7 separate regions of the Homo sapiens genome follow, and regions 1, 2, 3, 4, 5 and 6 are each linked to region 7. The links are contacts of gene promoters, found by promoter capture Hi-C in blood cells and fetal thymus (Javierre and others, 2016). All regions are on one chromosome and are shown on one strand. The core of a region is centred on a gene start or on the middle of the fragment in contact, and the rest is flanking DNA. Distances in the headings are between cores, read along the strand shown. Region 1 overlaps LOC105377448 (a long non-coding RNA gene). Region 2 has its middle 240 kb from the start of NOCT. Region 3 overlaps LOC105377448 (a long non-coding RNA gene). Region 4 overlaps ELF2 (E74 like ETS transcription factor 2). Region 5 overlaps LOC105377448 (a long non-coding RNA gene). Region 6 overlaps LOC105377448 (a long non-coding RNA gene). Region 7 holds the start of SLC7A11 (solute carrier family 7 member 11).

Region 1 (3,720 bases), core at 806-3,305, 710 kb after region 7:
GTATTAAAAAAAAATGCAATACAGTGCTGCATAACAATTGTATCTTGTAAAAGTTTCTTTTATGACTTAAGAAGGGAAATGAGGGGAGGAATTCAGATATAGCAAGAGAGTGAAAGGTGAATGACAGAGAAAAACTAAGGCCACCCTAGAAATGAACAAGTAATACGGGTTTTTATGGGACTGTTAGGTATTGTGAAATATTTCATATTCTCTATCAGAAAGTCTCCATTTGTACAATATCTTTTTGAAAACCAGATAGAATTTTAAAAAGGATAAGTGATCTAGGAAACTTTTGTAAGTTTCTTTATCCCAGCCATGTTAAGTTCCTTTTTTTTTTTAACATTCTATATGGTTCAGGATATTCACCTGCAAACAATATAATCTACTTGATTATGATCTAATCAGTGTTATGCACTAAATGTTTGCATCCCCCAAAATTTATATGTTGAAGCCTTAATCCTCAGTGTGTCTGTATTTGGAGATGGGGCCCCAAGGAAGTAATTAGGTTACATGAGGTCATAAGGGTGGGGCCCTGTTCCTATAGGATGAGCACCCTCATAAGAAGAGACAACACTCTTAGATTCTCTCTCTCTCTACACACACGCACACTGAGGAAAGGCCACATGAGGACACAGTGACAAGGCAGCTATCTACAAGCCAGGAAGAGAGTCCTCAGCCAAACAGAATCAGCTGGAACCTTGGTCTGGGACTTCCAGCCTCCAGAACTATGAAAAAATTAATTTATATTGTTTAGGCCACCCAGTCTATAGCATTTTGTTACAGCAGCCCAAGCAGATAAAGACAAGCAATAAGGCATTTATTACTGTTTTTCATTGAAGCTAAGATGTCATTATTTGTTAAGGCACATCATTGTTTTATAATCCATTAAGAAAGATATATTATTGCTAATTAAATTACAATATGTCATGAATTATAAGAAGCATCCCAATTTCAGGAATGTAAAAGTGGGGGAAATGTACATCTTAGAATCGATGGAATAAGGTAAATATACTGGGAAGCTTATAGACTTTTCAGGAAGACCAGGGGAATAGGTTTAGATGCTTCACAGCCAGAAACAAAGCATCCCAGAAAAATGCCCAACCATTCCATGTGACTAGTCCAGCAGAAACAGCATTGTCACCATTGCCATGCCAATCATCACCTGTAACACATCAGAAACTCTGCCACCTGCCCTGGAAGAACTAATGCCTGCAGACTTGCCAAAACAGCCAATCATCAGCACCACTCTAAGTCCCTTTGGTGACTATGAGCATGAAGGAGAAACCCTTTCAATAATTATGCCAGGACAACAGGCATAAACCAGACTGCTCAAGGGAAACCAGACATTTGGTCATGCTTGGTGGAAACTAGAACCCTAGTTACAAAAGAGTCTGGGAAATATTTTTAGCTTTTCTGCTTCTATTATAAAGGAAGACAGGCTAGAAGGGGGTTGCACTAGATGTTAAGTGAGCCTATGTACATGACCTGCTACACATTTGTTAAATATGGGGGCAGAAACAGTGGCCCAATCCTGTAATCCAGCACTTTGGGAAGCTGAGGTGGGAGGATCACTTAAAGCCAGAAGTTCAAGACAAGCCTGGGCAACATAGCAAAACCCTGAGACTACAAAACAAAATACAAAAATTAGCTGGGCATGGTGGCACACGCCTGTAGTCCTAGGTACTTAGGAAGCTAAGGCAGGAGAATCACTTGAGCCCAGAAGTTCAAAGCTGCAGTGAGGTATGATTGCACCACTGCACTCCAGCCTATGTGACAGAACCAGACCCTGACTCTAAAAAATAAATAAATAAATATTGGAGAGCTTATGGATGAATACATTCCAAAAAAACTGAATATTATAACAATTTTGTTATAGTGATATGGTTTGGCTGTGTCCCCACCCAAATTTCATCTTGAATTGTAGCTCCCATAATCCCTACATGATACTGAATAAGTCTCACGAGATCTGATGGTTTTATAAACGGCAGTTCCCTTGCACAACTCTCTTGCCAGCCGCCATGTAAGACATGTCTTTGATCCTCCTTTGCCTTCTGCCATGACTGTGAGGCCTCCCCAGCCATGTGGAATTGTGAGTCCATTAAACTTCTTTTTCTTTATAAATTACCCAGTCTTGGGTATTTCTACATAGCAGTATAAAAATGGACTAATATAGGCCTGGCACGGTAGCTCACGCCTGTCATCCCAGCACTTTGGGAAGCCAAGGCAGGTGGATCACGTAAGGTCAGGAGTTCGAGACCAGCCTGACCAACATGGTGAAACCCCATTTCTACTAAAAAATACAAAAATTAGCTGGGCTATGGTGGTGGGCATCTGTAATCCCAGCTACTCAGGAGGCTGAGGCAGGAGAATCACTTGAACCCAGGAGGCGGATGTTGCAGTGAGCCAAGATTGCACCACTGCACCCCAGCCTGGGCGACAGAGGGAGACCCTGTCTCAAAAAAAAAAAAAAAAAAGAAAGAAAGAAAGAAAAGAAAATTGACTATTACATATAACAAAGAAAGAGCCTCTATGTAAACCAGAAATTGTTTTGAGCTGGCTCTGTTACAAGGGCTCTTACCTCCAGCAGCAGGGCCAGAAAAGCCTCATGAAGACAGCATTTTATCAGGAGTGATTAGCCATTTTGCTCACTCTGAGCTTCAGAATGTTGATGCTAAATTTGTTCCATCCAAGATAAATTTATATTACAATGCCTGAATGTTTTCTTTCAGTTGGAATTTTATGACGATAACAAATGGGTCTGCTCTGTTACGAGAACTATATGCATAGTTATGCATTGACCTGTAAAGGATGTACAGAAGTTTCTGGACTTGATCTCTTGTTTCTTCTCATAGATGCATTGGCCTCTATGGCGAGGAGACTCATTCTGCTTTATGCTCCATCTTACTTTTCAGGACACTCTATTCTACAACACTCTTGTCCCATACTCTTCTCCTCTCTAAGAAGTCTACTTCTTGCTGCAGAGCCCTTTTTCACTGATCACAGAGAGTCTGAGGCCTTTGTTTTGTAAGTGATAACATTTCACAAATATTAAACCTCTGCATGTAATTTTCTCCTTTAAATAACACTCTCTAGAAGCTTCTTACCTCCCAGGAGACATCACTGAGGCTAGGGGCCCCAGAGAAGGACAGAATGGAGATTTGACTTCTTTAGCAAGACTCGGAGCTTGAAAAACAGGGTTAGGCAGTCCCGCATAGTTTCTCAATGGGTCACCACTGGCATTTTAAGTGGGACAATTATTCCTTATGAGGACTGCCATGGGCAGTGCTTCACCTCACTTAATGTCAGTAGCACACTCCAGTTATGGTTGCAATAAACAGCACTCACAATCTTCCCCAAATGCCCCTTAGAGAAATAGTAATTCCCCTATCTGAGCTCTGCTGAGCTGAAGAGATTTCCTAAATGTCTATAGCATCACATAAAACCAAGTCCACAGGACCAGACTCATTTCACAGAGTTCCTCTCAATGTATGAAGAATAAAACCCACTGGGTTAGGATAGCTAGGCCTAGGGTGACAACTTTGTCCCAGTTTGCCCAGGACTGTTCAGTTTTCTTGCTTGTTTTGTTTTGTTTGAGATGGAGTCTTGCTTTGTTGGCCATGCTGGAGTGCAATGCCACAGTCTGGGCTCACTGCAACCTCCACCTCCCAGGTTCAAGCGATTCTCCTGCCTCAGCCTCCTGAGTAGCTGGGACTACAGGCA
Region 2 (3,812 bases), core at 929-3,428, 530 kb after region 7:
TTTGAGAGGTCTGAACCTTGTTCAGACCAAATGAGAATGGATATACAGAAATGTTGCTTTGTAACTGTTGTTATATTCTCCCGTACCAACATAGAAGTGTCCTGGGAAATATAGTTCACATACCTGTAAGTTAAGTTTCAGTTGGATAGAATCATTACACTTATGAAAAATGATTCCTTCTCAGATGACAAAAGGCCAAGTAATCGCTGTTATTCCTACTAAAATGAAGCTATATCTAGGTTTGAAAAATGTTAACTTTGAAATTTGAAAAATTATTTTAAAAATAGAGTACAAATTATATCATAAACACTCCTCTCTGCCACCCAAAATAAACAAACATTAATATCTTGTTATATATGCTTCAGATCTTTATCTTACAAGAAGTGAAGGATTAAACTCAAAGATACTGTCCCCTAGAGCCCCTTCTCCACTCCCATTCCCACTCCTCCCCTCCATCCCAAGAGCAAATTATGGATGCCATTTTAAAATCCACAACAAGTAATGTAACACATTATTTATAGATGTGAAACTAACTAACTACAAAGCAAAAGTATAAAGACAAGGAATAGATATATGCTAAGGTAATTTTTAAAAATAAGAGATGGAAAGAGAATATTTTACTCTTCTTATAAACACTATAAACTGTTTAGACTTTTTTAATTCATATTTAATTCAAGGAAAAGTAATTAAGGATAATCGAATACTTTAAGAAAAGTATTGCACCGCTATAACCTCACGCTTCCTTTTCAGTTGAGTGTGAGAAAATGATAGAAGAAAGTTGGGAGCTGGGAACCAGAGATAAGATAGGGTTTCTTCCTTCCAGCAATCCTTCCTTTAGAAATTGAAAGAGGAGGAGAGGAGGAGAGACCCACAGTTGATCTCTGAGAAGTGAGTAGCTGGAGGCACCAGGATACCAGCCAAGCCTAAAGGATAAAGCAAATCCCTGGACATGGCTTTTGATTCCAAGCTAAGAAGTGCAAGGTAAGCTACAAAAAGCATTCTAATCAGGGCCTAGATGTGTTTGATTACAATAAATCAACATATCTGTAAAATTTGTGAAAAAGCTACCCAATGTTTTCATAGCCTTTATTTGACTTAAGAGCAATTAGGAAGCTTCATTTAAGTACAGTAATCATTAAATCTATTTAAATAAGGTTTTCAATTGAAAAGCAAAAATAATGTACAAATTGGGGATTATACATCAGGAGCCAGATTCGTAATTAAACAAGGAGATTAAACCTATTCATTTATCTCTGCTTTTTTTCTGAAATTTATCCAATATTAATATTAAAGGAATAAATAAATACATTAACTCTCAAGTTCTCAGAGCATGAACGGGGCTTGACCACTGGCCCTAGACTGGGGAGAGAAAAATGGAAGTCTCGGCCAGGCACAGTGGCTCATACCTGTAATCCCAGCACTTTGGGAGGCCAAGGCAGGCAGATCACTTGAGGTCAGGAGTTCCAGACCAGCCCGGCCAACATGGTGAAACACCCCGTCTACTAAAAATACAAAATTTAGCCAGGTGTGGTGGTATGCACATGTAATTCCAGCTACTCAGGAGGCTGAGCCATGAGAATCGCTTGAACCTGGGAGGTGGAGGTTGCAGTGAGCCGAGATCACACCACTGCACTCCAGCCTGGGCAACAGAGCAAGACTCTGTCTCACACACACACACACAAAAAGTCTCTCAGAAAGCAAATCACAGCAAACAAGACAGCAGACAACAACAAAAGAGAAGAATCCACAAAATTCTGGAAGATGAAAAGGAGGTGGACCCCTGGTAACTGAGTTAGTCAAAGAGAGAAGGCTGGAAACTATCATGCTGGAGGAGAGAGGTAAGAAGACAATAGGAGCCAACTCTTTCACATCATAGAATCCCAGAAAGATACAAGATTTGGAGGTCCTGGGAGCCAAATGAGACTGATAACTAACACCCTCCTTTTTCCTCAGTGGAGTACTATGACATAGACACGGATGCCAGACAACGGAAGATCAAATGTCACCTTTAATCTGGAATCCTACATTGGACACTGGACTAGAAAAACATTTGTGGAAAAAGTAATGAAATTCAAATACGGTTCCATGGATTAGCTAATTGTAATGTATTATGAATCACCTGCTTTCTATCTTTGTTCTGTGGTTATGTAAAAAGTTAACATTAAAGAAAGCTGGGGGAGAACATACAGAAATTCTCTGTATTATTCGTGCAAATTGTAGGTCTAAAATTATTTCAAAATTAAACTTTTTAAGTTAAACATCTCCTTGATTGCTGATAAAGTCGATATTAGAAAGCATAGCTTATTCTGCCTGAATTGGATAAATTTGCTGACTTCAGATTTGGGCAGATTTACCTAATATAACTGCAAGCAATACTGAGCCATTTCAAGTCTTACCACAGAATAGAGCCAGCAGGCTCTAAGCCTACACAGGGCCGAGAGCTAAAGAGAGCACATACTCTGCTTCAGACAGGCGAAACTTCAGTTTAAGATCTTGGGATTTCCTCAAAGAAAGGTGAGCAGAAAGGGCTGAGCTATGCCTGCCCAGTTCCTTCCCAGCTCTCCCCAATTAAGTATGTCACTCCTTGTTGCCTGGGGGGGAGTCAAGACGAGAAAAAAGAATCCAGAAGCATTGTTTTCAACGCAGTGCTCTCAGACTTTTTGGTCTCAAGGCCCTTTTACACTATTAAAAATAATTGGAGACCTCAAAGAGCTTTTGTTCATGCTAGTTATATATTTAAATATCTACTATAAAACTGATACTTTTTAGTATTTATTTATTTAAATACTATTACTAAACCCAGTAGATGTTAACGTGAATAACATATTGTATGAAACATAATAATTTCTTCCAAACCAAAAAGTATAATGAGAAGAGTGTCCTTGTTGTTCATTTTTACAGAGTATCTGTAATGCCTGCCTTAACAGAAGACAGCTGGATTATCACAGCTGCTTCTGCATTCGATCTGTTGTGATATCACATGTCATGTTGCCTCTGGAAAATTCCCCCTGCACACTTACAGGAGAATGAGAGTGAAAAGAGCAAATAATATCTAGTGTTTTTAGAAAAAATATTTTGACCTTCCATCCCTCAGAGATCCCTGGGCCACACTCTGAGAACTGCTGTTCTAATAAACATCTCTCTATGTGCAGAACAGACGAGGTAAATGTTCCCCAACAGAAGGCAGCACGAAGGCTGTAGAAGACAGCGATGAAGTCTAGAAGAAGGGCACCCCTGAGACAGAGAAGCTTTGAAGAAAATCCCTCTATGAAGCAGTGAAACCCTTCCCCCAGTTCCTCTTTCGAGTAGCACTGTCAGGTGACTGTCTCTCTGTGCTGGCAATTTACTGAGAGGCTGAACCCTGACAATCTCCAGATTCAGGGAAGCCGGCAGAGCTGAGGAATACCCTACTAAAACAGGAAACTGGGAGGAATTTAGCACAAGGTTCAATGAGATCCCTCATCCCTCTTGCCTTACTCAGCTCCTAGAATCCTGGCCTCTTCGTTTGTTACCCACGCCCCAACACACACACCCTAAGTGAGAGGTTGAGTAATTCTTCTCTGAGGAAACAGAAACAAGCCAAGAAGGGGGAAAAGAAAAAAACCTATAAATACTGAGAGTTGGGATATCCATCAATGAAACAGCCCCAACCAATTACCCAAAATTAAAGCCCACGTCTTAGCAAGCCTCACCTCTGCACACACAGTTCCAATAGCTGCAGCTGTTGCACTTTTGTGTGCTAATAGACAGTCCAGAATGACTAAAACATACATCCTCAGAAAGCATCCAATGGGGAAAAAAAAACAGACAAA
Region 3 (3,856 bases), core at 123-2,622, 680 kb after region 7:
ACTAATTATTTGTTATTGGCACTAAAATAGCTGGTGTTATACGTGGCTGTGTGGCACACATGAAGTTTACTTTAGTGGAAGGTGTTCGGGGTAGGAAAGAACCACAATTATTTTTCTTTTCATACAAAGTCATGTAATTAATCATTTCATTTAGAATAATGGTACATTAAAAGTTTAAATTGATAAGTCTAGGTATTTTGAATGTTGCCATAATTTTACAGGTGATAAAAGAGGCTCAAAATGTTCATGATTTGGTCAGGCATGGTGGCTCACACCTGTAATCTCAGTGCTTTGGGAGGCTGAGGTGGGTGGATCACCTGAGGTCAGGAGTTCGAGACCAGCCTGGCCAACATGGCAAAACCCTGTCTATAGTAAAAATACAAAAATTAGCTGGGCATCGTGGCGCGTGCCTGTAATCCCAGCTACTAGGGGGGCTGAGGCAGGAGGATTGCTTGAATCTGAGAGGCATAGGTTGCTGTGAGCCGAGATCGTGCCACTGCACTCCAGCCTGGGCAACAGAGTGAGACTCTGTCTCAAAAAAAAAAAAAAAAAAAAAATAGAAAGAAAGAAAAGTTTATGATTTTTTTTTACAGTTGTGCATTTTAATTTCCTATTTTTCCCCTGTGGATTCACAAAGGAAATCATGCTAGAAAAAAAGATGTCATCTTAAAGCTGAATGGAAGCCTGGCCAACATGGTGAAACCCTGTCTCTACTAAAAATGCAAAAATTAGCCGGGTGTGGTGGTGCACCCCTGTAATCCCAGCTACTCAGGAGGCTGAGGCAGGAGAATTACTTGAACCCGGAGGCAGAGGCTGCAGTGAGCCAAGATCGTGCCACTGTGCTCCAGCCTGGGTGACAGAGCGAGACCCCATCTCGAAAAATAAAAAAATTTAAAAACATTTTTTTTAAAGCTGAATAGATCTTAGTTTCTCTTCAGCAAAAGCTATAAAAATTTGAGAATCTTGAAAGTCCAGAAGCTTGAGTCTATGTTTTTCTCTGTTGTGTCCCCATTTCCTGGTCCAAAATCTGGCATATAGTAGATGCTCAATAGGTCTTTTTGGAAAGAAAGTAATAACAACATGAGGGTTGAGCCAGATAGGCCCTTTCAGGCAGTATCCGCCATGAGACTGATGGGGCTGGGGGAGCATTTAGGAAAGGCATGAAAACCAGGTGCACATCAGAGCACCCAGAGATGGGCATCCTCCCAGAAATTGAAATGTGCAGTGCAAGGACATGCCCATGGAGATGCCCATGGGAAGAATGCCAAGCAGAGGCCAGGAAGGTGCCTGGAGAGACAGGCCATCCGTACCACAGGGAGAGAACACACATAGGACTTCATAGGAGCCCAGACTGATTATTCTGAATTTAATATTTGCTTAAGTTTTGAAATTCATCTTAATCATAAAACCCTAAAATAGAAAGGAAAATCTAAAGGATACATCATCCCGGTGATAAAATCAGCACCAATTCTAACCTTATCATCCAGAATCCAGACATTTAAAAAATAACAGAGCCTAACGTAAAAGGGGACAGACAAGAGAAATCAGAAATTATTCTCTGGACCCAGTGATTCCCTCAAATTGTCCCCCATTTACTTTCCAATATCTGCAATGAGCAAGTGTACACTCTCTAAGTGACCAAAGCAGACACTCGGGTTTGCACTCCCTGATTTTTTGATCGAATTGCTTCCCACAGTGGATGTCCTCACTGATATTACTTTCTATGTTTCTGCTAATAGAATAAGAAATGTACTAATAGTATATAAAGAAGCTTTATTACTAATTTGGAAATTCTTACGACTCTGAATTATAATCTTAGAAAATCACTGCAATTGAAATATTTTAGTCTGGCCATTAAACTTTGGTTAACAAAGATTAATAAGTGCCCTTGTAACACCAGGTAATACAGCCAAAAGGAAAAAAAAAGGTGTGAGTGCAATGATTGAGATATGTGTAGGGGTATTATGGAAGCAGCTAAGAGGAGTCTCTACCCAGTTTAAGGGGTGAGGAGGAAAGAAATGAGGAGAGGAGATTTCCTGGAAGACCCAGTTGAGCCTAAAAGCTTCCTCCCACCCCATGCCAGATCAGCTCTCATTTTCATTTGTATCTGGAAACTAATTGACCATTTTGAAAGGAGTGAATAAGCTCAGGCACAATGGCTCACACCTGTAATCCCAGCACTTTGGGAGGCCGAGGTGGGCAAATCACAAGGTCAGGGGTTTGAGACCAACCTGGCCAATATAGTGAAACGCCGTCTCTACTAAAAATACAAAAAAATTAGCTGGGAGTGGTGGTGGGCGCCTGTAATCCCAGCTACTCGGGAGGCTGAGGCAAGAGAATCGTCTGAACCCAGGAGTCATAGGTTGCAGTGAGCCAAGATTGCATCACTGCACTCCAGTCTGGGTGACAGAGCAGGACTCTGTCTCAAAAAAAAAAAAAAAAAAAGGAGTGAATAAATCTGAATGCTGACTATTGTCTAAACCCAAGGAACGGGGGTTGTCATTGAGACCTTCCAAACACTGCAAAGACTACACCACTGTTATACAACCTATGATCAGAGGTCACATCGAAGCAAATTGAATAATCAAAGTAATCAATTTGAAAAAGATTTTTATTTCTTCAAAGCAATGTAAGAAAAAAGGAGGCGGGCATGGTGGCTCATGCCTGTAATCTCAGCACTTTTGGAGGCAGGAGGATCACTTGAGGCCAGAAGTTCAAGACTAGCCTGGCCAAAATGGCAAAACCCTGTCTCTACTAAAAATACAAAAATTAGCGAGGCATGGTGTGAGCTTGAGAGGCTGGAGCACAAGAATTGCTTGAACCAGGGAGATGGAGGTTGCAGTGAGCCGAGATTACACCACTGCACTCCAGCCTGGGCGACAGAGTGAGACTCTCTCTCAAAACTAAAGGGAAAAAGAAAGAAAATAAAAAGAAAAAAAGGAGATTCTAGCACTTTTGGAGGCCAAGGTAGACAGGTCACTTGAGCCCAGGAGTTCAAGACCAGCCTGGACAACACAGCAAAACCCTTTCTCTACAAAAAATACAAAAATTGGCAGAGTGTGGTGGCATGTGCCAGTAGTCCCAGCTATGCAGGTGGGTTGAGATGGGAGGATCGCCTGAGCCCAGAGAGGTCGAGGTTGCAGTGAGCCACGATCACACCACTCCACTCCAGCCTGGGCAACAGAGTGAGACCCTGTCTCAAAAAAAAAAAAAAAAAGAAAAAAGAAGGAGGTGGGGGAGGAAGAGGAGTAGAAGAGGAAGTAGAAGGGGGAGAATAAGCAAGTCTCCCAGCAGGAAGGACCTGGAAATGTTACCTTATACAGAGAAACTTTCTTTCTATAAATGTATGTGTCCACCATCATCAGAATTTACAGAGGCCCATCATCATAAACCCAAGCACTTTTCATTATTTTTATCAGAGAAATGGAGGGCGCTTACACTGGTAAGTGCTTTAAAATTTCCTGAGCAATGATCCTAAGTGCAAGAAGATGTTATTATGTCCTGTGCCTCCTTCCTCTGACGTTTAAGGCGCTCTTGGGAGAATGGCAAATGTTGGGAATACATTAGAATGATGTGAGGTCAAGGAAAATGGTGGCCAAATGTTGGTAAAGATATCTACAAACGATACCCATGTCATCTCTTCAAAAATACATTTCACTCAGACAGCAGCAAAAGAATTTTTGATGAGTTTGGAGAGAGAGAAGTAACACAATCGTCTGACAATAGCCTAAGCTTTCTTCCCTACCCTCTGTAGGGATCTATTAAGGACACAGGAAATGGAAAGAGCAGCTCAGTGTGTGATGAATGTCAGTTACTATTACATTTATTAAGCTCTTCTGCAAAGGCCTTGGGTATA
Region 4 (3,865 bases), core at 84-2,583, 840 kb after region 7:
GAAATTTATAGAAGGAAAAATAAATAACTCATTTTAAAAATAGAAACAATGAAGCTAAAAGTAGTCTGACAGGTATCATTTTCTAGTTACCACTGGTAGTGGCTATTGCTGGTCAATCCCCCTTGAAATAAATTTCAAGAACTGTTTTACTTTTTATTACAGTACCAAAAATAATATTTGCTTGTACCTTCATTTAATATTGGTAAATATCTTCTTGTTCCATTTCTATCTTTCTAATCAACCGGTGTTTGTATGGTACTGAAGACTATTCCAGACTCACTCAACAGCTGTTACAAAATACCAAACTTGGTAATTAAGTCTGACAAGAGGCATACCTCTCAGCTTTGCATAAAAGAATGCTGGCAATGGATCTAGTTCATAAAAATGTTCTCAAGTCAAAAATAAAATTTAGTAGCAATTTAGTTTGAGAGCAGTGAAAAAAAATTAGAAAACACTTCATTAGGTGATAGTGGTATTCTCCTATAAGCAACACTATAAACTAATAGTACAAGGTCTTCAGTCAACTGCAGCACCCGATTTACCACTACTTATCCTCTAATGCCCCAAAGCTATACCAGTAATAGGTAAATGAAGAATACAAATGAAGGCAATAAAAAGGGGGAAAAGGTAATTAAAGGTCTGGAATACTCCATCTTCACCTTTTCCCCCTTGACCTTTTAATCAATATACTTGCATTATAAAGTATAAAAAGGAAAAAGAATGGCAATTCTTTTTTTTTTTTTTTTACACTCTCGGAGGGGGAGAGCGAACTGCCCTCTGCAAGATGAGATCAGCCAGAAATTAAGTTTAAATTAATTAAAATTAAAAATTGAGTTTCTTAGCTACATTTTAAGTACTCAGATACATGCGGCTAGTGGCTACCATACAGTACAGACCTAAACAACACTGTAATTCAGCTATCCTCCGACCTTTTTTATCTGAGGACACTTTTACACTCAAAATACTGAAGACCTCGAGATTTTATCTGTATTTATCATATTTGAAATTACAAAGAAAACTTCAAAATTATTAATTCATTTAAAATAATACACCCATTACTGCAACCATAAATAACATTTTTTATGAAAAATAACTGTTTTTTGAGACAAGGTCTCGCTTTGTTGCTCAGGTTGGAATGCAGTGGCATGATCATGGTTCACTGTAGCTTAGATCTCCTGGGGTGTGATCCTCCTACCTCAGCGTCTCAAGTAGATGAGACCACAGGCACGCATCAGCACACCCAGCTAATTTTTTGATTTTTTTTTTTAGAGACGAGGGTCTCACTATGTTGTCCAGGCTGGTCTCAAACTCCCAGACTCAAGAGATCCTCCTGCCTTGGCCTCCCAAAGTGCTGGGATTACAGGCATAAATCACCATGCCTGGCCAAAAATAACTTAAAATAAAAAACAAAAAGTAAGTAGCTTTGTTTTTTACATTTTTGCAAATCTTATTATACTTGATTCAATAGAAGGCAGCTGAATTCTCCTTCCTCTTTCAATCTATTGGAATAACCCATCTATACATAGCTCCTAACTCCTCTGTACACTTTTGAAAGTGACAAGGCAAATAATGTCCCAGTATTATTTTCAAAACAGTTTTGTCTTTACAGATCCTGTGAAAGGCTCTTGGGACTCCCAGAATCCGGGTCAGAGAGTTTGGTTTTTGAGAAGCGCAGCTGTAATTCATCAACTGTAATTAATAACAACCAAATTCTATCCCCATGCTTATATAAGTTTTAGCTTCTAAACATAAACATCAGGGTGTAGATGACAAATTATGATTCTAGCCTAGGAGCTGTGGCTCACACCTATAATCTCAGCACTTTGGGAGGCCAAGGCAGGTGGATCACCTGAGGTCAGGATTTCAAGACCAGCCTGGCCAACATGGTAAAACCCCATTTCTACTAAAAATACAAAAATTAGCCAGGAGTGGTGGCTCACGCCTGTAATCCCAGCTACTTGGGAGGCTGAAGTGGGAGAATCACTTGAACCTGGGAGGCAGAAGTGAGCCAAGATTGTGCCACTGCACTCCAGGCTGGGCGACAGAGGGAGACTCCATCTCAAAAAATAAAATAAATGTAAAAAAAATAAAAATTATGATTCTGTAAGTAAAACAGTATTTGTCTACTCACAGATAAATGGTTTTTAAAAAGCTCTTCTTAAGCATTTCTTTGCATCCTTTTGAACATTTTGCTATAGATGACACAAGGAATCATTTTAAACAATTATCAAACATGAGGAATTATTTTAAATAGTTATCAAGAACATTCTGCTGCCTGCCCTTCTCCACCAACCAAATTTGTTTCTAAAATAGTTTTATGTTGAATGATTCTGATTGGCTATTTACACACTGACTGATGTGACCATGTAACTCAGTTTTTACATGAATTTTAGTACCAATGCTGCAATGAATTGTGAAGGGTAATTTCTTAAATTCATTTTCAAATGAGCTTTTTAAAAAGAAAACTAGTGTCATTCCTTGAGTTTCATTTTAATGTATCTATTCACATACTGCTTTTAACTTCTTTTCATACTGCTAATTTTTTTTCAATTTGATCTTTTCAAGATTGAGACTACATATTCCAATTTATAGTAAATCAGAAATGAGATTTTCAATTTCATAATGAACTTTAATAAAATAGATTTGTTTTCTGTCAGTGAAAATATTTAGGCTAAATTTCCAGAAAAATTTCACCTTCATTTAATAACTGCATTGTTGACCAAAACTTCTGATTACCTTATTTCGCAAATGTAAAAATAAAATAAAATAAGAAAAGACAAATAAAGGAAAAAGTCAAGAAAGGTATACTTGAGAATAAGGCAGAAATCTTCCAGAAAATCCAGACTGTTCATACACAATACTTTAACATAAATATTAGGAAAGTAACAATGCTAGACATTTGTTTTTCCTATATTAAGCTATATACACTAGAAATGAGCCTAAATTATTAATTAGACTATATTACAGACTTAAACATATAAAGAGCCTCAAGTTCCAATTTGGCACACATTTTTATTTTCAAAGACTGGATAAAAGAAGTTAACCTACCAATTACATAACGAACTTATAGACATATTCATTCACATGGTGTAATATTAGAAAAAAAAAAAAAAACCCAAGGAGAAGCCCTACCTTTCCATTAAGTATTTCCAAGCCACTTATTTTAGAGCTTTAAAAGTCATTAGCAATCATCTAGTCAACCCTGTCTTCTTAGAGAAAAATGAAGCCCTAAAGATGTTAAGTCACTAGCTAGTTTAGTGACAGCTAGATATAGATCCTCAACTCTTCAGGGTCAAGGCTCGTTCTCATACATCATATTGTCCATGAAATTTTAAAGTACGTCGAGTCTTTACTACAAACATACTTTGTAAAATGACAGTGAGTTTTAATAAATAAGCTTATTTATTTCATCCTTTACTCAAACTCCTCTGGCAGCATAAATGTTTATAGCTAAAGGAATGCACATGTGATACTTAACACCTCAAAAGGAAGAAAAGCAAAAGTATATTCGAGCTTAACATGTACCTTAACATGTAGCGACAGTGATAATATTAAGTGTTATATACTTGCTTAGAAACATGTTATGCTGAAAATATTAACCTAAAGCTTATCTCCTCTAGAAGTTGTATAAATATCATTCTACACTAATCATCAACCCATTATAGCAATCACTGGAACTATTTTTTACATTTATACATTATATAGATTTTCACCTGTCTCCCCAGACTGTAAAATCTTTGTGAGGAAGAATTCTCTGTCACACCTGATGACCTCCCTCAAGGAGATAAAAAGGTATTCTGTCCATTACACAAATACAAACTTTAGAAACATTATCCTACCAATGCTATTGAAAATTGGCAGCAAT
Region 5 (3,952 bases), core at 903-3,402, 620 kb after region 7:
AGGCAGAGGCTGTGGTGAGCCAAGATTGCACCACTGCACTCCAGCCTGGGTGACAGAGTGAGATCCTCTCCCCCACCCAAAAAAAGAGACCCTCTCTTAATAAGCAAAAAACAAAGGTTTCAAATTCCACTTGCTCTGTAATATTTACCAAGCCTATCAGTACCTCAAATTTCTCATTGGTAAAATGGAAAGGAAGAGTCACCAAAATAAAACACTAGAGAAAGGATTGTAAAACAGTGAGATTAACTTTCTACTGAATGGAAATCTCACCCATTGTGTCAGGGTAACTCCTCCTGAGACACCGTAGTAGAACGGTGTCCCTTATTCCTAAGAAAATCAAAGAATGCCGTTTACTTGCTGGCTATGTTTTTTTGTTTGTTTTTCCTTATTCCTCTTGAGGATTGCTGGTGTCATGGTTTGTAATGCTTGTTACTAGCCTTGGTATTTGAGCTTAAGAAAAAAGTCCTTGTAGAAAGAAGCTGTCACAGAGGCAAAAGGAGTCAACCAACCACCCATTACCCTAAAACACTACTTTCCACAAAGCTGAGGATGAAAGTCAAGAGTCATCATGTCATGGCACAGAAATCTTTCCTCTCTCCACTCAGGAAGGTTATCTTCCTCTTAAAGACTGAACATCAGACTTGTCAAAAAATGTTCCTTATTGATCTGACAGAGACAGAATATTGAAGTTAGAGAGATATTTGCTGAACTATCTCCCTTGTCTCGGGGAAAAGCTGAAATGCTGTTGTTGACCCTGACCATGAAGATTAGAATAGAGGTTGTGTGAAAACAGAGGTAGTGCTGAGTAGAGGCACCACCTCCAGCCTCGGAATATAAGCCTTGTGATTGATAGAGGCAGGAACCCAAGCACTCGGTGAGGGCGATGTGGGGGTGGGGGACGCGGTTGGCAGCTTGGCTCCTCTCCACACCAACCGGATTAGTGACAACATCACAGGAGTTCAGTGGCTGCTCTGGTTCTGTTTGCATTGTTTCCTTCTATGCTGTTAGGCAGAAGCACAAATACACCTTGTGAGAAAACCTAATATCAGTGACAGGAAGGAATGTTACTTTTAAAGGACTCCTTGCTCAGCCATGAGGCTCCATGCAGAGCCTCCTTCCAGACAGCCCTGATCCTCCTGGGCTTTTTCCCAAGGGGCAAAAAGCCACATTCTATAGACTGCACGACCTTGGGTTACTTGGTGGGCATCTGAGTATGTCTCCTTCCTCAGAGCGCTCAAAGTTCAGTTACAGTTCTATCTACAGGAAAGAAAAGGTAGAGAAAAGCCTTTCTGTGGTTTCTTTTTTTCCACATTAATGGTATCCTTTATACTCAGTGGTTTTTTGAAATGATAAAGAGAAGGAGGAAGGAAGGAAAGAGGGAAGGAAGGAAGGAAGGAAGGAAGGAAGGGAGGGAGGGAGGGAAGAGGACGCTTTTAAAGTCAAGAAAGTGATCAAGAGCATGCTGATGTGGCACTGACGCACAGCACCTGTGGGCATGGAGCAGCGAGAGCAGGGGTTGTAATCACAGAGGGGTCACGCCGCAGCACCTGGGGAGTGAGGGAGGATTCACTATCAGAATTGCCTGAGCAACTTCCCCAAAATACTATCCTCCTCCTCCTCCCCACTAAGATTCTGAGGTTGATTTACAGCGGACAGTGTGGAAGGATGTCCGAATGTGTCGAGTGGAAAAGGCAATATGCAGAAGAGTACTTTCAGGAAGATCCCATTTCTGTAAATAATACTGTCATAATTATATCTTATTCGTGCACGTCATTATAGTCCTAGAATAATGTGAAAGAATACACAGCAGATGTAAGCAGTGGTTTTCTCTAAAGGATGACATGATGATGGGCTTTCACTCTTAAATTATACATATTGGAATCTTTCACATTATTAATCGTTATGTTTCTCCCCCATCTAGTCTCACCAGACCCCTTTATAGTTACCCTGGCATGAACCACAGACCACAGAACAAGAAAAATGTTGCAAATACTCAATTTTTAAGAAAAAAAAATTTGTTTTTGCCCTAAATCTAGGGCAGGAAGATTCTGCCATACACTGACAGAGCAGAGGTTTAGGTAGAACCCCCATGTCTATAGAGAAGAAATGGAGGAGGCATATTACAGGGGCAGGAGTGGGTGACAAGGAGCAGCTATGATCCCCCACAGAAGAGAAAGTCCAGCAGGCCCCAGGGAGCTGCAGCAAGCTGAGAGGGGCTGAGGTGTTGCCGCTTTGCCCCAAGGTGAGGACCACCCATCACCAAGGGTTGTTGTCACCCGGTGGTGTCCCCTGTGGAGTGGCACTGATCTGCTTCCCCAAGTCTACCCAGCACAGCCCTGTGCCTGCCTCCCAACCACCCTCCAGTGGAAAACTCCCAGTCTCCAGTCCAGCAACACCAGACACTCATGAGCTGCCACCTTGGCCCTAATCAGGTGAGACACAAGCACTAGAGAGTGACTTCAGGGTGAAATCGAGCCTTGCGCTGGGCCAGGATGGGAACAAAGGGAACAAGTTTGGAGCAGCTGAGCAGGACGGCGGTGGGACACATTGCCTTTGATGTATGCACATTTTAGAATGCGTCATGTGTTGCTGCATGCATGTGCTGTTTTTGTGATGAAAAACCTGATTTGAGGGAACCCAATTTGACTCAACATTCACTATTTATCAAGTATAACCTCCACATTGACTCTTAAGACCTCCCCTCCCTCAACTTTCTGTCAGACCAAGTCAGCGTCTAATTAATCTCTGAGGACACCTTTCCATCTTCTATAGGCACACAGGCACCACACACCACACAATACACACCACACACACAGCACAGCATGCATACACCACACACACACCACACAATACACACCACACACACAGCACAGCATACATACACCACACACATATACCCACATACTACATTGCACACCATCTATCCTCCACACAACACACTGTACATCACACAACATGTACACAAACACACACACACCACACTATATTCCACACACCACACACATCACACACTATACACTACACACCACACACACTATACACCACACCCGCATACACACTATACTCCATATACCATACACACCACACACACACTCCGACACAGTATCACCATACACCATGCACACACATACACACACACCACACACCACACTATACTTCACACAACATGCACACACACACACACACCCCAACACACCACACATACCGTACTATACTCTATACACCACATGCACACCACACACAATATATTCCACACAATGCACATAAACCACACACCATGCAACACACACACCACACACACCACAGTATACACGACACACCACACACAGACCACACTATACACCCCCCCACACACACACCACTCGACACCACACATCACACTGTATACTCCACACACTGTGCACACACACACTATATACCCACCACACACGTGCCCGCCCCATGCAGCCCCTTCTCCTTTCCAGTTGCACTCCCAAGGCCTCTGCCTGGAATGCCACCCTCGGCCTCTCATTCTTTAGCTATTAAGTGAAGCTGACTGAATTTCCCTTTGACTTTAGACACAACCGCCTCGGGTTGCAGTCACTTGCCTGTCATTATCTGCCCTCATACAACTTGCATAGGGAACGTCTCCACAGCATGGTTAGTTCCACTGCACAATCACAGCACACAATTTGCCACTGTCCCTAATCTCTGACACAGCATCCGAAATTAACTGCTCTCCTACTACAGATGACCACTCACTAATCCTCCCAGGATCTGCAGCACTGTTTCCAGAAAGTACGTTTTCAAGCTGGAAAGGGTTTTTCCATCCTTCTTGACAGTAGTTGTAATAAGAATCCATTATCATATTAGCAGAGAATGGCGATGCTAAGAAGTGACATTTGCACAAAATTTGATAGTTGACAGAGATCTTGTCCCATTTGGTGTTCACTCATAGAATGTCATTCAGTCC
Region 6 (3,836 bases), core at 800-3,299, 720 kb after region 7:
TGAGGCAGGAGAATCGCTTGAACCCAGGAGGTGGAGGTTGCAGTGAGCCAAGATTGCACCACTGCACTCCAGCCTGGGTGACAGAGTGAGACTCTGTCTCAAAAAAAAAAAGAAAAGAATAAAAAGGTCTTCATCCTCATCTTCATGTTGAGTAGGCTGAGGAGGAAGAAGAGGGATTGGTCTTGTTGCTCCAGGGGTGCAGAGGCAGAAGAAAATCCACTTATAAGTGGATCCATCAGTTCAAACCTTTGTTGCTCAAAGATCAACTGTACACAGATACATAGCAAGAGATTTATTATGAGGGATAAGCTTACGTGATTATGGAGGCTGAAAAGTCCCGTGATCTACAATCTACAAGCTGGAGGCCCAGGAAAGCCAGTGGTGTAGTTCCAGTCCAGCCCCAAAGGCCCAACAACCAGGAGCACTGATGTCTGAGGGCAGGAGAAGACAGGTGTCCCACCTCAAGCGGATTGCAAATTAGCCCTTCCTCCACCTTTTTGTTCTATTTGGGTTCTCAACAGATTGGATGATGCCCACCCACACTGATGACGGTGATCTTTTTTACTGTGTTTCCTGATTCAAATTCCACTCTCTTCCAGAAGCACCATCACAGAAATACCCAGAAATAACATTAACCAGCTATATGAGCATGCCCTAGCCCAGTCAAGTTGACACATAAAATTAATCGTCACAAGAAGGAAGTGACGGGGAGGGGAGGGGAGGGGAGGGGAGGGGAGGGGAGGGAAGGGAAAGGGTCCTCACTAGTGACGTAGGAATTGTCTAAATATTCCTAATGACCTTTCAACTTGAACTTAGTTCTTGTTTTCACTCATCAGAATCACATCAGGAGGGAGGAAATGATGGGATGGGAGGGAGAAATCTACCTCTGGTGTTTGAAATTTCATAATAACCCATCATACTCTACAACAGACTTCAACCAGCTAGCAATATCTCTACACGTTTTTCTTTTAACACTAAGTTTCCGATAAAAGAAACTTGCATTTAGTTGAGTTCTGCCTATACTCAGATTCCTTTCTCAGGAGCCAGGGTTGAAGGCCCAGCAGGCAACTTTTCCAAGGAGAGAAATAGCAAATGAAGTTAACTGACATTAATGAAAGTAAATATTTTATCAATGAAAAAATAATTCTCCCACCTATGATGAAAACTATTTTTTTTAGACTGATGGATAAAAATTCTAAATCATTTCATATACATTGGCTGCATTCTAATGTCTGCTTATGAAAAACAACAATGCTCGGCGGGGCACAGTGGCTCACGCCTGTAATCCCAGCACTTTGGGAGGCCGAGGCGGGCAGATCACCAGGTCAGGAGATCGAGACCATCCTGGCTAACACAGTGAAACCCCGTCTCTACTAAAAATACAAACAATTAGCCGGGTGCGGTGGTGGGCGCCTGTAGTCCCAGCTACTCGGGAGGCTGAGGCAGGAGAATGGCGTGAACCCGGGAGGCGGAGCTTACAGTGAGCTGAGATCGCGCCACTGCACTCCAGCTTGGGGCCAGAGTGAGACACCATTTCAAAAAAAAAAAAAGAAAAACAACAATGCTCTATACATTATATGAATTACATTTCTCTCTTTTTATAATTAATTTTTTATACAACAAATGTACATTTATTGTCTAAAAATTCTAACAGTACAGAGGTATACAGGGTACAAAAGTCAAAATCTCGGTTCATCTCTCCTCAGGCCCGATAGGGTTGAGACTCACCACAATATACTTTTTTTTTTCTGAAAACATGTCACGTTCATAAGCACATCATACTTTCTATGGGAAGCAATGATTAGCTGTTCACAGTGGACCCCTCCAGACTTTTTCTATATATCTGTATCTATTTACACATATAGGTGCTATAAATCTTTTATGTTTTTATTACATATGTTGGATTGTATTAAACATATTGTTCTGAAACTTGCTTAATATTAAGTCAGAAACATCTTCTGTGTCAATACATCCAGCACTGCCTGACTCTCCTTTGCAGATGTAGAGTTATCACTGAACCATAAGTGTTTGGTAGCTGTTTTTAGTTTTCACAGTTCGGCTATTTTCAGATTTTCTTTAATGCCGACTCTGCTGTAATAAATATCCATGTGCATTATACATATGTTGCTGAATCAATGCGTGTGAGCGTTACTGTTGTATTTTATTTTTATTTTTATTTTTACTTTTATTTTATTTAAACAGCATCTTACTCTGTCACCCAGGCTGGAGTGCAGTAACACAGCTCACTGCAGCCTTGACTTCCCAAGCTCAAGCGATCCTCCCACCTCAGCCTCCTGAATAACTGGGACCTGAATAGGCATACACTACCATGCCAGGCTAATTTTTTCTATTTTTTGTAGAGACGAGGTCTTGCTATGTTGCCCAGACTGGCCTTGAACTCCTGGCCTCAAGCAATCCTCCCACCATGGCCTCCCAAAGCACTGAGATTACAGGCGTGAGCAACCACATCCAGCCTGAGCATTACTGTTTTGAGAGATATTCCCAAAGTGCTCTCCACAAAGGGTTACAACAACGAACACTTCCATCAGCTGAATGTGAGATTATATTTTTACTTTATTTTGGAGAATGAAGGTAGCATATTATTATTGTATTTATTCGTATTTCCCTAGTTGTGAGATTAAATAATTTTCAGATGTTTCTCAGCCATTTATATTTCTTTTTCTGTAAATTGCCTTAAGTTTGCCCTTTTCTTTTGACTTACTTTTTCTTGCAATTTGAATCCCTTTAAATATTATGGTTCTCATATGGTTCTGTGAAAACACTTCCTCTCTCTGCTATTTGACACGTAGCTTTAATTATGCATCATTCATTAAATGGAAGTTTTTAAAATAGTTATGAGGACAGATCTGTCCATCTTTTCTTCATGGTTTTTGTGGTTTCAGACTTTTTTGAAAGGCCATCTTTACCCCCAAGTTCGTTTAAAAAATAAAAAAAAACAGGCCGGGCACGATGGCTCACGCCTGTAATCCCAGCACTTTGGGAGGCAGAGGCGGGCGGATCACCTGAGGTCGGGAGTTCAAGACCAGCCTGACCAACATGGAGAAACCCAGCTCTACCAAAAATACAAAATTAGCCAGGCGTGTTGGCGCGTGCCTGTAATCCCAGCTCAGCTACTCGGGAGGCTGAGGAAGGAGAATCGCTTGAACCTGGGAGGCGGAGGTTGCGGTGAGCCAAGATCGCGCCATTGCACTCCAGCCTGGGCAACAAGAGTGAAACTCCATCTCAAAAAACAAACAAACGAAACAAAACAAACAAAAAAACAAACAAACAAAAACACTTCTCCTATACTACCTTCTAGTGCCTTCATGGAAAGTTTTTAACGTTTGAAATTTTTTTTTTTTTTTTTTGGAGACAGAGTCTCGTTCTGTCACCCAGGCTAGAGTGTGGTGGCGTGACCTCAGCTCACTGCAACCTCTGCCTCCCGGGTTCAAGCGATTCTCCTGCCTCAGCCTCCCAAGTAGCTGAGATTACAGGTGTCTGCTGCCACACTTGGCTAATTTTTTTGTATTTTTAGTAAAGATGGGGTTTCACCACATTGGCCAGTCTGGTCTTGAACCCCTGACCTCAGGTGATCTGCCCGTCTCAGCCTCCCAAAGTACTGGGATTACAGAATATTTGAATTTCTAATTCATTTGGAATATGCTTCTGAAAACAATATGAAACAAAAATCCCTAACATGATGATGGTGGAATCCCTGTCCTGCTCCCATCTTCAATAGAAATCTTCTGATGTTTCATCATTATATCTACAGTGGCTTCTGCCCTTATCAAAGCTTGTTAATAGTTTCTTTTCAAATAAAGAATGTACGTTGAATT
Region 7 (3,731 bases), core at 1,197-3,696:
TGATTTATTCTGAATATATAAAGTGCTGTAGGAAGATTTAAAGGCTGAGGGTGCACAAAATCATTTAAGATGATCAACAATTAGGTTTCTCTTTTTCTATAAGTGCATATACCAGAGCTATTTTAATATTAATAGTGGCTAAGGGTACTATTAGAGTTTTTCATAATGATATTACTCCAAATTATTTTATAAAGATGGGAAGTAATACTGGGAAATAATGATACACAATTGTTACTGAATATTTAATAAAGCACAAGTTAGTTATAAATAATACCACAAACTCTCTCTAAAAACCCCAAATAATTCCTCTATAAATCTTTCTATACTACTTGTTTTAACAAGTTCTATTTAAAATAACTTCTTCCTAAAAATGGAATTTGAGGACCGGGCGCGGTGGCTCATATCTGTAATCCCAGCACTTTGGGAGACTGAGGTGGGTGGATCACGAGGTCAGGAGATCGAGACCATCCTGGCTAACATGGTGAAACCCCATCTCTACTAAAAAATACGAAAAATAAGCCCAACGTGGTGGCACACACCTGTAGTCCCAGCTACTCGGGAGGCTTAGGCAGGAGAATTGCTTGAACTTGGGAGGCGGAGGTTGCAGTGAGCCGAGATCACACCACTGCACTCCAGCCTGGGCAAAGAGCGAGTCTCTGTCTCAAAAAAAAAAAAAAAATGGAATTTGAGTTCTCTAGATGAGTGTCAAACCAATGATTTAAAACATCACAAGGCCTGAGTAGAAAGAATGAATTGATTGGTACACATGGGAACAGGAGTTAGTACTTGTTAATTAGTCCTAGAGTTAGCGTTAGTACTTGTTAGTTAGTGTTAGTCCCAGAGTTAAGACAAAGAGCAACTTTAAAGTACAGAATCTTTCCCAAGAAGAGTAAATAAATCCTCATAGCATAAATCAAATTTAATGTTTGACAGTTCACCAGTTTTTATCATCTTTACAACAAACTCAGGTAGCTCTCTAGTAATTTGCCTACTCCATAAGGGGGCATTTATTTACCTCTTTACTATTAATTCTCAGATCAATAGAAGAGACATAAACTTTGAAGAAAAATTCATAATTATACTTCTGCCAGTTCCCTTCAGATTAATTTAGTGAACAGGTGGACAAATTCTCTGTGTCCCTGGAGAACAAGTGAAATATAATGAAAAAAACAGATCTGGGCAAGTACAGAAAACTAACGCCCAACTGAAGTTTTAAAACTTATATTGCAAAAGTGTATGGGTATTGAGAAGAGATGAAAGGTTGAAAAGTAATTTGAAATATGCTCAGGCCATTGCAATATACCCCATTATGATAGGGATTGAGTTATGCGCCATCATACATCTCTCCCATGTCAAGGACTTTTGAAAGGATATTAAGAGGTGACAAGCACATGAACTTAAAAAATATTTTTATAAAGACTGCCACCCATTTGTTTGGCTAATAAAAAGTCAGTAAGACTTCTGCTGAACACTCCGTTCTATGTCTAAATAGCCCATGCCAGGTTCCACTTCACAGGTGTCTCATTCAGCATGCCAGCTGCCAGAATGCCCAAGCTAAGTGTACAACTGCCCGGCACAGAAAGTGTGCATGTTTTTTACTGGGTCATGAAAGTTAGCCTTTGCTCTCATCACCACAGAGAAAAGTCAGAAGATAGCCTGTCTTAGTCAGGAAAAGAAAGTACAGCCTGTAGGAAGCAATTTGAGGGTGTTCCAGATCACACCAACAGCGGATGCTGCATCTGGGTAGTTCACGTACCCGAACAAAAATTTTAAAAATTTGGTGTGGCCTTTGCCATCCATTCACTCCTCAAAAACTACCATTTGCTTTCCCAGAAAGCAAGCTTTCCAGCCCCACAGCCACGCCCCCACGAGAGAAAAAGTCGCACTCACCAAATAGTGACAGGACCCCACACACCGTCCAGATGGTCAGAGACATGCCCACGCTGCCCGTGTTCTGGAGCACGCCCTTAGGAGAGATGAAGATTCCTGCTCCAATGATGGTGCCAATGATAATGGAGACTCCCCTCAGTAAAGTGACTTTCCTCTTCAGCTGCACTTTCTCCTGCCCAGGTGGCTCCTTGTTGCCCAGGGAAGGCAGCCTCCCGTTAACATTTCCCTGCAGGTAACCTCCTTTGGAGATGGTGGACACAACAGGCTTTCTGACCATAGTAGGGACACACGGGGGAAAAATAAAACAGAGGGAAAGAAAACAAAACTTTCAACTTTGGTGTCTCTTGGTGTTACTGATCGATGTCTTCCTCTGCTTTCAGACTGTCTCTCTCAGCGCTATAGTGTTCACAGGTGAAAACTCAAAGGTGTGCTTTTTCCTTCACAGCGATCTAATTACTACTCAGAAACACCTGTGTATGCATCGTGCTCTCAATTCTCCACCTCCTCGTTCCACCACTGCTGCTGCTGCTGCTGCTGCCGCCCTATCATTACAAACCAGCTCAGCTTCCTCATGGGCTTGTATTTAAGCGCCTGCCTGTCACACCAACTTACTACAGCTAAATGATGATGCAAATTCTCCAGGTTTGCATCAGCCACATGAGAAGCCTCCAGCATTACTCAGCTCTTTTTTTTAAAAAAAGAAAAAAACAGGAGGAGCTTGTTGCTCAACTGACCTAAGCTTTTTAGAGAACAAAGCACACACTTTAAAGAGATTTTAGCCAATCCAGAAGTAGTAAATTCGGAACAGACCTTCCCAGAGATTTAAAGCAACTCGTAGTGAGCAACAAAAGCTGTTCAAACAAAATGAAACAGGAAATAGTTACTTCATTTTAAGGAGTTTCTTTTTCTTTAATGCGTGTATAAAAACATTTTACATGCGACTGTTTTGTGAGTAGAATGTATCCTAAAGCTACATTGTTTATAACAACACAGTTTGAATTTCATAATTTGTGTAATGCTTTTTATTTTTTTATTTTGAGTTTTTTATAAGGCAATACAGTCAAATCCAATATTTACAAAATTAAAGATTCTACACTTTATACTTCTGTCACATACACACAACTATAAGCCTTCCTCAACATTAAAAGATAAAATTATTTCTTACTACTCATAATAAACCAGTATTTTAAATCACCATCCGAGTGTGACTAATACAAAATTCACCATGACTCCAGAAAATAGTCATTTTCTGATTCTCATTAGCACTAGGTGATTTTTTTGAACTATGTAAAAGATACATATCCTTCATTGTCATGTTGTTCCTTTGAATTACCAAAAAAAATTTCTAAGTTCAAAATTACACAATTACAATTACATAAAAATATGTATATAGCAAAAGCCTGTAAAGGAAAACAGAATGGTAGTTATAGAAAGTAATGATATTATGTATGACTTTTTTCCACATTATATAAACTATTGTTATTATTATAAATTTAAAATGCATTAAAAATGTAAGCTAAATTAAAATATTTACTTTGCAATAGTCAAAAAGGCAAAACATTTTTAAACCCTTCTAACTTTCTCAACCAAGTGTCAAGAAAAAACAAATATGAAAAGAAAAGAAATCCTAGATATCATTTTTGGCTATAGTTACATGTGGTTTTGGATTCAGTGAGAAGAATTGAATGTTATCATTACCCTGAAGCTACCTTTATACGCACCATTAAATAAGCTTCTGAACCTTTGAACAAAAACCACAAACAAAAAGCCTGTGTGCGAGAGGTTGGCAGGGAAAGAAGGGAGTCAAGTATGGTGAGGATGATCAAAGAAAGAAATGAGAA

Evidence for each region. Contacts are between HindIII fragments. The CHiCAGO score rates a contact against its expected background, and 5 or more counts as called.
Region 1: a fragment that was not itself captured here is called in contact with the fragment with the promoter of SLC7A11 in region 7 in 2 of 17 cell types (M1 macrophages and M0 macrophages); the score reaches 6.5 in M1 macrophages.
Region 2: a contact is called between a fragment that was not itself captured here and the fragment with the promoter of SLC7A11 in region 7, in 3 of 17 cell types (M0 macrophages, megakaryocytes and M1 macrophages). The highest score is 6.8, in M0 macrophages.
Region 3: a fragment that was not itself captured here is called in contact with the fragment with the promoter of SLC7A11 in region 7 in 1 of 17 cell types (M2 macrophages); the score reaches 9.5 in M2 macrophages.
Region 4: a fragment that was not itself captured here is called in contact with the fragment with the promoter of SLC7A11 in region 7 in 1 of 17 cell types (erythroblasts); the score reaches 5.1 in erythroblasts.
Region 5: a contact is called between a fragment that was not itself captured here and the fragment with the promoter of SLC7A11 in region 7, in 3 of 17 cell types (M2 macrophages, megakaryocytes and M1 macrophages). The highest score is 8.1, in M2 macrophages.
Region 6: a fragment that was not itself captured here is called in contact with the fragment with the promoter of SLC7A11 in region 7 in 4 of 17 cell types (M1 macrophages, monocytes, M2 macrophages and 1 more); the score reaches 7.2 in M1 macrophages.

The regions. Positions count from the first base shown.
Region 1 is chr4:138,945,897-138,949,616 of GRCh38, forward strand. All of the region lies in intron 2 of LOC105377448 (a long non-coding RNA gene), which reads right to left. Among named protein-coding and RNA genes, the nearest start is that of NOCT, 68 kb to the right of the region's middle. The HindIII fragment of the contact is 2,077 bases long and covers 1,018-3,094 here.
Region 2 is chr4:138,772,713-138,776,524 of GRCh38, forward strand. No RefSeq gene overlaps it. Among named protein-coding and RNA genes, the nearest start is that of NOCT, 240 kb to the right of the region's middle. RefSeq lists an enhancer at 722-866, a cis regulatory region at 786-803 and a silencer at 2,375-2,558. The HindIII fragment of the contact is 2,135 bases long and covers 1,112-3,246 here.
Region 3 is chr4:138,921,413-138,925,268 of GRCh38, forward strand. All of the region lies in intron 2 of LOC105377448 (a long non-coding RNA gene), which reads right to left. Among named protein-coding and RNA genes, the nearest start is that of NOCT, 92 kb to the right of the region's middle. The HindIII fragment of the contact is 793 bases long and covers 977-1,769 here.
Region 4 is chr4:139,077,845-139,081,709 of GRCh38, forward strand. All of the region lies in intron 4 of ELF2 (E74 like ETS transcription factor 2), which reads right to left. Among named protein-coding and RNA genes, the nearest start is that of NOCT, 64 kb to the left of the region's middle. The HindIII fragment of the contact is 4,123 bases long and covers 1-3,395 here.
Region 5 is chr4:138,864,246-138,868,197 of GRCh38, forward strand. The region is part of intron 2 of LOC105377448 (a long non-coding RNA gene); the gene reads right to left. Among named protein-coding and RNA genes, the nearest start is that of NOCT, 150 kb to the right of the region's middle. RefSeq lists an enhancer at 1,842-2,343. The HindIII fragment of the contact is 9,708 bases long and covers 1-3,952 here.
Region 6 is chr4:138,962,829-138,966,664 of GRCh38, forward strand. All of the region lies in intron 2 of LOC105377448 (a long non-coding RNA gene), which reads right to left. Among named protein-coding and RNA genes, the nearest start is that of NOCT, 51 kb to the right of the region's middle. The HindIII fragment of the contact is 3,484 bases long and covers 308-3,791 here.
Region 7 is chr4:138,239,903-138,243,633 of GRCh38, forward strand. SLC7A11 (solute carrier family 7 member 11) reads right to left here and starts at 2,447. Exons shown (of 12, transcript NM_014331.4): 1 at 1,891-2,447. The coding sequence starts at 2,167. RefSeq lists enhancers at 1,793-2,992, 2,462-2,701. The HindIII fragment of the contact is 788 bases long and covers 1,840-2,627 here.